2 separate regions of the Homo sapiens genome follow, and region 1 is linked to region 2. Evidence: promoter capture Hi-C in 16 types of primary human blood cells and fetal thymus (Javierre and others, 2016). All regions are on one chromosome and are shown on one strand. Each heading gives the region's core, a stretch centred on a gene start or on the middle of the fragment in contact. The rest is flanking DNA. Distances are from core to core; before and after follow the strand shown. Region 1 has its middle 18 kb from the start of LINC01391. Region 2 holds the start of ESYT3 (extended synaptotagmin 3).

The links. Contacts are between HindIII fragments. The CHiCAGO score rates a contact against its expected background, and 5 or more counts as called.
Region 1: a contact is called between a fragment that was not itself captured here and the fragment with the promoter of ESYT3 in region 2, in 2 of 17 cell types (megakaryocytes and M0 macrophages). The highest score is 7.4, in megakaryocytes.

Annotation. Positions count from the first base shown.
Region 1 is chr3:138,923,067-138,928,539 of GRCh38, forward strand. No RefSeq gene overlaps it. Among named protein-coding and RNA genes, the nearest start is that of LINC01391, 18 kb to the right of the region's middle. RefSeq lists an enhancer at 439-488. The HindIII fragment of the contact is 3,135 bases long and covers 1,173-4,307 here.
Region 2 is chr3:138,431,592-138,437,381 of GRCh38, forward strand. It overlaps ESYT3 (extended synaptotagmin 3), which reads left to right and starts at 3,025. Exons shown (of 23, transcript NM_031913.5): 1 at 3,025-3,534. The coding sequence starts at 3,208. The HindIII fragment of the contact is 865 bases long and covers 2,578-3,442 here.

The sequences.
Region 1 (5,473 bases), core at 1,490-3,989, 490 kb after region 2:
GTAGCTCACTGTAGCCTCGACCTCCTGGGCTCAAGTAATCCTTCTGCCTCAGCCTCCCAAATAGCTGGGACTACAGATGTGTGCCACCAAGCCCAGCTACGTGGCCTTCTTTAAATGATCCAATTTCTGACTCTAAGCCCCCATCCTGCCTATTGTCAGGGGTCTTGGGACGTCAGTCTTCGGATATTATTACCACGTTATTTGCTCCCAGGGCTGCATGTCCTTGGGGCCTGGCGTCTCTTCAATTTCATGCCATGCTGGTGTGCCTGGGTCACAGGTACAGCCTATGATCATCTCCTCTGAGCACCTGCCATCTTCCCAGGGCATCTTCAGGAAAAATTATTGAAACTAGGAACTATTGAGCTTCTCTTGTCTGTGGGTGCTAGGGGCCCCCAGCCCTAACCCAGGCATCAGCAGCTTCAGTTTCCATCTACAGAATGCAAGATCTCAGCTCACTGCAAAACTGCCCTTCCTCTGGGTGCTTCCAGGAGTCCACAGGGGATGTTTCTTGAGTAACAAGCTTTTCTCTCACCTACTTCCACTTTGGACCACACTGCCCCCTTGTGGAGGGTGGTGACTCTGCCATTGCTTTATACGCCTGTGATGGCTGTGAGTTACGTTCTTGCCCAGGGTGCATCTGACAGCCACTCAAAGCTGCAGTCCTCGAGGATCCAGAGGGTCCACACAGTTGTGTGGTCCCTCGCAGCCAGGCTGTCACCCCAGCACTCCTCCCCTGATCTGAGTTGCACCTTGTGACCTGGGCATGGAGGCAGTGCTGCCTGTGGTCCTGGGACTCTTGGGATCCTTCTTGAGGAGGACTCTTCTGCCTCAGCCTGTGGCTTTTTTCTCCGTAACACAGGCCCAGTGTATTAGGAGTCTTCCAATTGCAGATGACGGAAACTCAGCTTAAGTTGTTTACAATTCCAATAAATAAATAAATAAATAAAAAGAAAGAAAGAAAGTGTATTGGTTTGTCACTGAAAACTCATGGCAAGTCTTCAGGTATAACTGGATCCAGGAGCTTGAACAGCGTGGTCAGAGCGCAGTCTTACTCCTGTCTGTTCTGCTTTCCTTTGTGCTGGCTTTACTCCCATGCAGGCTTTCTCCACTTGGGTGCTCTCTAAAGTTTTGGGCTTATTTCTTCCCCACAGCTATCAATCTTAGTGGAAAGAAGCTTCTCTTTGCCTTCAGTCCCTACAAAAGTTCTGCAATTGGGTCTCTTTGGCTCAATTCACTTGCTTGCCATTGAAACAACCCCTGTGAAAGACAGGGTGAAATATACAAATACACTTCCTCTCTGGCTGGGTGCGGTGGCTCACGCCTGTGATCCTAGCACTTTGGGAGGCCGAGGCGGGTGGATCACCTGAGGTCAGGAGTTTGAGACCACTCTAGCCAACATGGTGAAACCCCGTCTGTACTAAAAATACAAAAATTAGCTGGGTGTGGTGGCACACGCCTGTAGTCCCAGCTACTCCAGAGGCTGAGGCAGGAGAATCACTTGAACCCGGGAGGTGTTCAGCAGTAAGGTTTTCTGACAAGTGACCCTGTCCTCTTTCTTGGACCAAGGCTGGCCTGTGACCCCAGGGCCACCATTCCAGGTACTGGGTAGGCCAGCAACCTCTGAGGTGACTTGTCTTGACAGGATGAGTAGCCTCAAGTAGTTTGTCCCTTGGAGATTGGAATTAAGAATTTCCAAGAGAGGTTTTCAATTTGTAGAAGGAGTAGGGGCTGGAGGGTCCTCAGTGGCCATATGTATAACAAATCCAGGAGGGAGTGGTCAATTCAGCAGAGAACAGGGGGACATGCAAAAGAAGCAGGGAGGTCTTGGGAAAGATCATGCAGTCCAGGAGAGAGAGACAGGGCTGCTGAGAGACAGAGAGACCTCTGATCCCATTGGCAGTCCAGTCTCAAGACCATACATTGAGTTCCTTTTTCTTTATCCTGCAAAACTTTGTAGTTTAAAACACAAACACCCAGTTAAATCTAGCTGATTTATTTACAACTATAGACTGACTTAAAGATAAGCAATAGGCTGGGTGCGGCGGCTCACGCCTGTAATCCCAGCACTTTGGGAGGCTGAGGCGGGCAGATCACCTGAGGTCAGGAGTTCGAGACCAGCTGGCCAACATGGTGAAACCCCATCTCTAGTAAAAATACAAAAATTAGCCAGGTATGGTGGTGGGCACCTGTAATCCCAGCTACTCAGGAGGCTGAGGCAGAAGAATCACTTGAACCCAGGACGCAGAGGTTGCAGTGGGCCAAGGTAGCGCTCTTGCACTCCAGCCTGGGTGGCAGAGCGAGACTCCATTGCAAAAATAAATAAATAAATAAAGATGAGTAATAATATTCCAAGTGAGAGAAGGAAATATTCAGACTGCTTAACTTGTAGCTCACATATATTCATTATTTCTGTACCTTTTTTTTTTTTTTAATTTTGACAGGGTCTCTATCTCTCAGGCTGGAGTGCAGTGGTGGTGAGGTCTCAGCTCACTTCAACTTTCGCCTCCCAGGTTCAGGTGATCTTCCCACCTCAGCCTTCCAAATAGTTGGGACCACAGGCATGCACCACCACAGCGGTTAATTTTTTTGTAGAGATGTGGTTTTGCCACGTTGCCCAGGCTGGTCTCTAACTCCTGGACTCAAGTGATCCTCCCACTTTGTCCTCCCAAGGTGATGGGATTACAGGCATGAGCCACTGTGCCCAGCTGGTACTTTTTTTTATTTTAAGATTATAGTATTATCTGTCTCCCTATCAGCCATTTCATCCTCTCTTCCTTGTCAGGGAACTCTGATTTTGTTCAAGGATATAAGTAACTCAAATATTACATAGGGCCATGTGCAGTGGCTCACATCTGTAGTCCTAGCACTTTGGGGGGCCAAGGCAGGAGGATCGCTTGAGCTCAGAAGTTCGAGGCTGCAGCGAGCTATGATTGTGCCACTGCCTTCCAGCCTGGGCAACAGAGTGAGACCCTGTCTCAAAAAAGAAAAAAAATTACATAAGCAGAGTATGCGACAACAACAACAAAATCATAGAGACCTTGGCCTCTACTCTTAGGCAGATCCCAGTTATCTGAGTCAGCCATGGTGGTCTCATTCTTTTGCCAACAGTTGGTTTAGGAACCAGCATGTAACAGACTCAGTCCTGGCCCATGAGATGAATAGGGAACTCTACTGAGGGATTCAGGGAGAGTGGATCAGACTTCTAAGAAAGAGTCTGGAAGAAATGGCTCCTTTTCCCATCAGAATTTTTCTTTCTTTCTTTCTTTCTTTTTTTAAATTTTAAATGTGGGCCAGGTGCAGTGGCTCACACCTGTAATCCCAGCACTTTGGGAGGCTGAAGGCAGGTGGATCACTTGAAGTCAGGAGTTCGAGAGCAGCCCGGACAACATGGTGAAACCCCATTCCTGCTAAATGCACGCGCACACACACACACACACACACACACAAACACACGAAAAATTAGCTGGGCATGGTGGCATATGCCTGTAATCCCAAAATCCCAACTACTTGGGAGGCTGAGACATGAGAACGGCTTGAAATCAGGAGGCAGAGCTTGCAATGAGCCAATATTTGGCCAATGCACTCCAGCCTGGGTCTTACTCTAGGGAGACTCTGTCTCAAAAAAAAAAAAGAAAAATAAATTCTGAATGTGATGTCTGTTACAGTCCACAGAGGTAAAAGATACAAGTAGCAGGGCTTGTGCCCAAGTTTTAGAGTGACTGTACCTATAGCCTACAGCCAGTAATCTCTGTCTTCTTTATTGTGAGATAATAAAGCCCTCATTATTTACATTCCTTTTAAAATAAAATCCCACAGTATTGTATTGTAATTGATGCAGATATAGCAGGTTATTAAACCACAGCTAGATTAATATTGTCATGAATCACAGGAAATTTTAGAGGTCATCTGTCTAATACAGTTCTACTTTACATCCCTACAGTGGCAAGATCCCAGTTAGAATGTGGAGTTGGCCTCTGTCCCTGTGCTATTTACTGGCTGGGGGCCCTGCACAAGTTATTTAATCTTGCTCAGTCTCACTTTCCTTACATATTAAAAGGAAATATAGTTTGTGGGAACTAAGTGAGATAATGTATCATGGCTGGCATAGAATAGGCACCAAATAAAAGCTAGCTATCATGGTTATTTCCAGATGAAAAAGGCATGGTTTTTGCCTTCAATAATATTACAATTAAGGAGTATGGAAAAGACAAACAGCCATGAAACGCAAAGTAAGACCTGATGAAAACAACTGAGTCAAATCATGGGGGTAAAGAGAACATGTGCTGTAAGAGTTCAGAGGTGAGAAAAGCTTTATTTATTTATTTATTTTTAGAGACAGAGTCTTGCTCTGTCACCCAGGCTGGAGTACAGTGGCACGATTATAGCTCACTGCAGCCTTGACCTCCTGGGCTCAAGGAATCCTCTTGAATAGCTAGGACTACAGGCATGTGCCACCATGCCCGACTAATTAATTTTTTTTTTTCTGTAGAGACAGGTCTTGCTATGTTGCCCCGGCTACTTGTGAATTCCTGGCCTCAAGCAATCCTTCCACCTTGGCCTCCCAAAGCTCTAGGATTATAGGTATGAGCCACTGTGCCCAGCCCAGAGGTGAGAAAAGCTTAATGAGCAAAAGGGCATTTGGGATTATGGCTGATTTTTATGATCTGAATTTTTCAAATTCCCTGCAAAAAATATCTATTGCCTATTTAATCACATAAAAGTTATTAAAATAATGTGCATTCCTCAATAAATAAAGGAAAGAAACAAATCTCCAAATGCCCATTGCAATGTTTCCCTTTGATAGTAGTGAACAACCTGGAAACATCCTAAATGTAGGAATTAAATAAATTGGGCCACATCCATGTGGCTGAATATGTTATACATATACATATGTATGACATATAATATGTCATACAGTTGTTAAACAGCTGGGAATTGTGTACCAATATGGAAAAATGAAAAGAATTGCTTTGTTAGTGGTTAGACGTTGGATGGTTATTGGCTTTCCATCTGAATTTCGAGTTTCCATGATTACTACAATATTGTTTGTGCAATAAAACATTTAATAAAATCAAAGAAAATAAGTGTGAAATTTGACCCGAACAATGGGGCCTTTTGTGTAACATTCTTTGCTCTGGTGGTTGCAGGGGTCTGCCTATTTCTCCACACCCTGGCAGGTCCACAGCACAGATCCTTTGTCACCCTTAAGAAGGTGTGTGTGGAAGGCATGCGGCCTTGGTTGGCCAGGGCTGAGGACACCATCCCCTTCCCCAGTGGGTGGTGGGGGCTGCTTTCAGTGCCTCCTTGTCTGGAAGGGATATTAAGGCAGGAGGCCTGGCTATGGCTTTTTGTTTTTGATATTCTCTTCATTAGATGTTCTATACTGTTTGTAAAATGGATGCTAAACCAGGAGAAAAACAGGTCTACCGTGTTTCCTTGATCATCTGTGAGGGGCTCCGGCACAGGTGCTAGG
Region 2 (5,790 bases), core at 1,775-4,274:
CAGCAGGGCTGAGCTCTCTCCCAAGGCGCTAGGGAAAAATCCTTCCTTGCTTCTTTCCAGCTCCTGGTGGGTGCCAGGAATCCTTGACATTCCTCCCCTGTAGTTGTACCACTCTGGTTTCTACGTGTGTCTTCACATGGCCTTCCCTTCCTGTGTCTCCTCTGTGTCGCTATCTCTGAATCTCTCTTTTCTTATAAGGACACCAGTCATTGGACTTAGGGCCCACCCTAATTGAGTATGATCTCACCTTAACTTGGTTACATCTGCAGAGACTCTATTTGAAATAAGATTACATTCATAGGTACCAAGGGTTAGGACTTCAACATAGACACAATTCAGTCCACACTAGTGACCAACGAATATTTATTTGAGCTACTGTTCTTTCAATAGTTGGTATGTAATAGGATACACTCTCAAATGTGTTCAGGCAAAGGCTGTGGAAGGCATTATTCTCCCCAGGTTTTGCTGTGATCAAACCATCTATAAAATATTTTTTTGCTGGTAGTAGTAACTAGATGTCCAGGTCAAGGGAAATAAAGTCTCCAGTGTTCTAGGCACAGATTCCATCCCAGGTAGGGTATAGAGTTTTCAATGCCATATTCTCAATGTTCTCATATATTTAATTTGTGAGAGTAATTTAATGACAAATAAGGTTTTAAAAGTGGGGGGGGGCAGGCACAGTGGCTCACGCCTGTAATCTCAGCACTTTGGGCGGCTGAGGTGGGTGGATTGAGGTCAGGGGTTCGAGACCAGCCTGGCCAACATGGCAAAACTCCATCTTTACCAAAAATACAAAAATTATCTGGACATGGTGGCAAGTGTCTATAATCCTAGCTACTCAGGAGGCTAAGGCAGGAGAATCGCTTGAATCTGGGAGGCCGAGGTTGCGGTGAGCTGAGATTGCCTTACTGCACTCCAGATGGGGCAACAGAGTGAGACTCCATCTCAAAAAATAAATAAAATAAAATAAAAAATAAAATAACTTTAAAAAGGAGGGGGGTGAAATCATAATCCCATCACCCTAACGTACTTTGGAGAAGTTTTAGAAGAGGAACATTCCAGGTAGAGAGAACAGCAAGTACAAAAGCCTTGCAGCATAAATGAGCTTGATGTGTTCAAGGAAAGAAAGGCGATGCAGCTGGGGATGGCAATGTCCCACAGGTCGTCTCAGGCTGGGCATCTGTCTCAGTGGGTGTCCATCCAGTTCACAAACCAACAACCTTCCTTTCTCTAGTAATCCCCCCACAAACTCACTACCTTCCACACCCCCTCCCAAACTAGCCCAGGTTGAGGTGTGGACTTGCTGTGTGTGAAGGATGAAGGGGATGACAGATTCAGCAGGATCCTGTCTCCAAGGGGTTTGGAATTGGGACAGGATAAGGGTCAAGGCAGTCTCTCTGGATTGGTGAGACCTGTGTCCTCCATCTCTGGATGTTGGGGGGAAAGTGCTGTGTTCTGCACTTCAACCAGACAGGCAGGTCAGCAGGGAGGGCCACAAGGATGAGGAGCGCAGTTCTGGCAGTTAGTTTCCTGGTCCATCCATCCTGAGAGCCAGACACATTCTGCCTCAGCTTCCAGGAGAATTCCCAGTATCCCTAGCCTACACTCTCTTTTGCTTCAGCAGACCTGGGTTAACCAATAGAGAAATATTTTGAGGAAAGAATTCTGTGGTCAAATAATCTGGGAAACACTGGGTTAAATAGAATTTAATAACTTTTTGTCTGAAGGACTTCTCAGAGCCTTTACTAGGACTGTGTACATGCAACTCTCAAGAAGGAACTCCAGCGAGCAGCATTTCTTCCGTTGATTTCCCAGGCTACACTGGGAGAATGTTAAGTTGGGGGACTTTAAGCCTCTGTTTTGGCTGAGTCCTGGAAAGCCAAGAACAATAGAGAAGGGTCCAGGTATTCTGACCACCAGGAACTCACGTATTGTTGAAAAAACTCATTGCAGTAAGTAATTTTATCCAAGAGAGAGGATAAAGCCAGAGAGAGAAAAAGAGAGTGACAGAGCAAGAGTCAGAACGAGAACGGGAGACCGGGGCGGGGTGGGGAGGGGGGAGGGAGGGAGAGAGAGAAAAGGAAAGAGAATATTTTGATTGCTATCCATCGGCTCCAGCCTTTCGATAAAGCTGTTGAAACAGTAGAGTCATTCCAAATCACTCTGGTACATTTGTCAACTCCAAAATCACATTCCAGTAATTGATGTGAGCCCTTTCATGTGGCCGTCTGAAATATATGCTATCCGCAAGACGATTTACTATCCGAACTTAAGAGATTCGGAGCTCCACCTGCTCTGATCATTAAAGGGTTAGAAACCATGGGCTTCACCATTGACTCTCAGGCACCTCGGGGCTTCCTCTTCATCTTTCCTTTTATTCGCCGGTCGCTTGCCCTTGTTGGGCGCCCCACAGATGGCCAAGACGGGCCGGTCCCCGGAAGTTCCCCGTCTGATGATGCAGGGAATGACGATCCAAACAGACACCTAGAAGAGAGGATGGGGAGAGAGGGGCAGAGGGTTTTGTGGCGCGCAGGAGGGGCCCTGAGCTCGGCTTGGTGAGGCTGGGGGCTAGGTCCAAGCTTTACAGATGCCAGAGGAGCTGGCAGCGTTGCAGGCTCTAGGGGCCAGTTGGAGGGCCGGGACGCAGGACCTGAGGCTGGGGAGGCCTGGCTGAGCCTGTCCAGGGAGGGCCTCGAATGCCAGCTGAGTCCAGACTATACTGTGTATTATAGACCGCGTGTAGGAAACAGGTTTTAGGTGATGTTTATCCATGATAAGCCAGTTGTACACAGGTGTTGGTGAGTCATTAACCACCTAGGGCAGCACTTGGTCCACCCGGACTGGCGAGTGCACACCTCCGGCTGACGCCTGCGCCACGTGCTGGGGTCGGAGGCCGAGCTCACCGGCTGGTTGCTCTTTAGAGCGGGCAGGAGCCAGGCGGGCGGCCCGCCCCTCTAGGGCGGAGACTTCCGGAGCTGCGGACTCACTGGAGCCGAGAACTGGGGCGGCGCGGCGCGGCGCGGTGCATTTCCAGGCGCTGCTCTCCGTCGCAGAGAACCCTGAGCTCGGCGCGCCGAGAGTCCCAGCAGGGCAAGGGGGCGCGGCGTCCTGGTCCTCGAGCTTGGGAGACAGATGCGCATGGGCGTGGGGGCATGCGGACCTAAGCTCGGGTGAAGCTCTCGGGAAGGGCAAGACTGCGGCGACGAGATGCGAGCAGAGGAGCCCTGCGCCCCCGGGGCCCCCAGCGCCCTGGGAGCCCAGCGCACGCCGGGCCCCGAGCTGCGCCTGTCCAGCCAGCTGCTGCCCGAGCTCTGTACCTTCGTGGTGCGCGTGCTGTTCTACCTGGGGCCTGTCTACCTAGCTGGCTACCTGGGGCTCAGCATAACCTGGTTGCTGCTCGGCGCCCTGCTGTGGATGTGGTGGCGCAGGAACCGCCGCGGGAAGCTTGGGCGCCTGGCCGCCGCCTTCGAATTCCTTGACAATGAACGCGAGTTCATCAGCCGCGAGCTGCGGGGCCAGCACCTGCCAGCCTGGGTGAGCCAAGCCGGGTGGGAGTGGGAGGTGGGGAGATGCCTTTCGAGGTTCGGAGGAACTTGCGGTCAGCGGGGAGCTGGTGCGCGCAAACCCGAGGCAGGGCGGGAGCCCGGCGACCTGCACACCCCGTTCCCCACCGCTCCCGGGGCGCAGACCCTGGGGACGGTGACCGCCCCTCCCGCGGCGCGCAGCACCCTCACGTCCACCTCTGGTCCGACTGCGGTGGGAGTGGGGAACTTGGGTTTCATTTAAGGCCCCAGAGCTCGAGAGAAGAGTCACGGGCAGACCACACCCGGGAGAAAAACAAGGGCGTCTGGGACTTCGCAGACTTACTCGGGTTGGAATCAGAAGGCATTTCTTCCACCCGCCTGTTGATTCAGAGAACGAACGCCGGACGCAAAACGTAGATGGGCAAATACCGCAGTGACAGAAACGGCGGGCCCAGTTGCTTTCGGCCGAGGCCTGGACTGCGGTAGGGGGAGGGCTCCGCGGGGCTGGAGGTGGAGTGGCGGGTACGGCTGGGAGACCGACGGCGCCGGGCCCCGGGCCTCCTTCCCTCCCTCCCTCCGCCGGATAGGGATGCCGGCACACGCACACTGCCCCGACAAACCCATCTCCTGGGGCGGCATGGGCGGCACTACGATTCCTCAAACGCTTCTGGTCCTGGCTTACCTAACAAAACCCAAGTTCTGGGCCCCATTGCATAACTCCCAGGGTGGCACAGAGGTATCCTGGGTGATTCTTATGATTAGGTGAGCTTGGGAAACACCGGCAAGAGGGGTGTTCCGTCCAATGGTTGGTCTGCGGCAAACCCTTACTGTCTCTCCGGTGCTGGGGCTCTTCGTTTTCAGATTTCTTCCAGTTACTCTCAGGCCCACGGGGGAGGTCGCCAGACCCCTCACTGTCTCTAGCCTGTGGCCTATAAAGTCCAGCAGGGCCATAGGTTCCTCCTGACAGTAGTCTGTAAAGTGAGGTGTGAGAAAAAAATATAAGGCCCATTTAGTTTATCTTATAAGAGAAATGAAGTCTTACTGTATCAGTCAGCCATAACTGAGTACAACAGGCTGCGTGGCTTAAGCAGCAGACACTTTTTTCCTTTCCTTTCTAGAGCCCCGAAGTCCAAGATCAAGGTGTTGGCAGGGTTGGTTTCTCCTGCGGCCTCTGCTGGCTTGCAGCTGGCTGTCTTCCTACCGTCTTCACACCGTCTTCCTTCTGTGTCCTAATCTCTTCTTAGAAGGACATCAGTCATATTGGATTAAGGCTCACCCTAATGAACTCATTTTAACTTAATTACCACTTTAAAAACCCTACCTGCAAATAGAATCACATTCTGAAGAACTGAGAATTAGCACTTCAAAGTGGGCATACACTTCATAACACTTAATATTTAATGTACGATTTGATGGTAAAGCTTTGCAAATAGCTTACATATTTGGGGGATGAGGGGCCAAAGACTCTTCCTGATAAGGGTGCACACTTTTCTACGGTAGTAGCCATAGGGGTAGCGCATGGGGCCTGACTCCCACAGACTTTGGTCATCCTGATGGTTCTGTGGGGCTTGTGATTCTGAAAGGTGTGGACCCAGCAGGCTTGACCTGTCCACACCCCTTGCACACAGTTGAGGGAGTCCAGGCCATCTGTCAGATCTCTGTTTTGTCCCCCTTGATGGCCTTAGCCCATGAGGGTGGGCCTGCGAGTCTTCACCAAGTAACATCCCTTCTTTTCTCCCCTTCTGTATCAGGGAAGCCTCTAGACACTGAGCTATATGTAAAGGCAGTATATCCGATATTGGGTCAAAAATCAGATCGTGTAGGGGCGTGGACACCCTCCCTGCCTCTCCCCCACATACACCACAGAGACAGTTCTGGCCTCTGTTGGGGATACAGACCCCAGGAGCAATATGGACCTAGCCAACAGGGAGCTCAGCCTGAACTCAAGAAGGCACCTCCTAGGTTTTCACCCCACAACCCATATCCCAGGCTTGACCCAGCTGGGTAGAGGGACACTCAGAGGAAGGTGATGCTCTCTGTCCTACCAAGAAGGCAGTCTCGGGTGGGGGACAGATGCATAACAGGTCATTGCCATTGAGGAGAATTGGAGCCAGGAGTCGGAACAGGGTCTAGTCAGGTAGAAGGCCTGGTATGAAGGACACCCTACCAGGTTTCCATATCATATTGTCCCCGAATCACAGCCCCCTTTCTCCTTGACAAGGACCTGGGAAAGGCTGGCTTCAGCCTGCATTCTGCAGACTCGCCT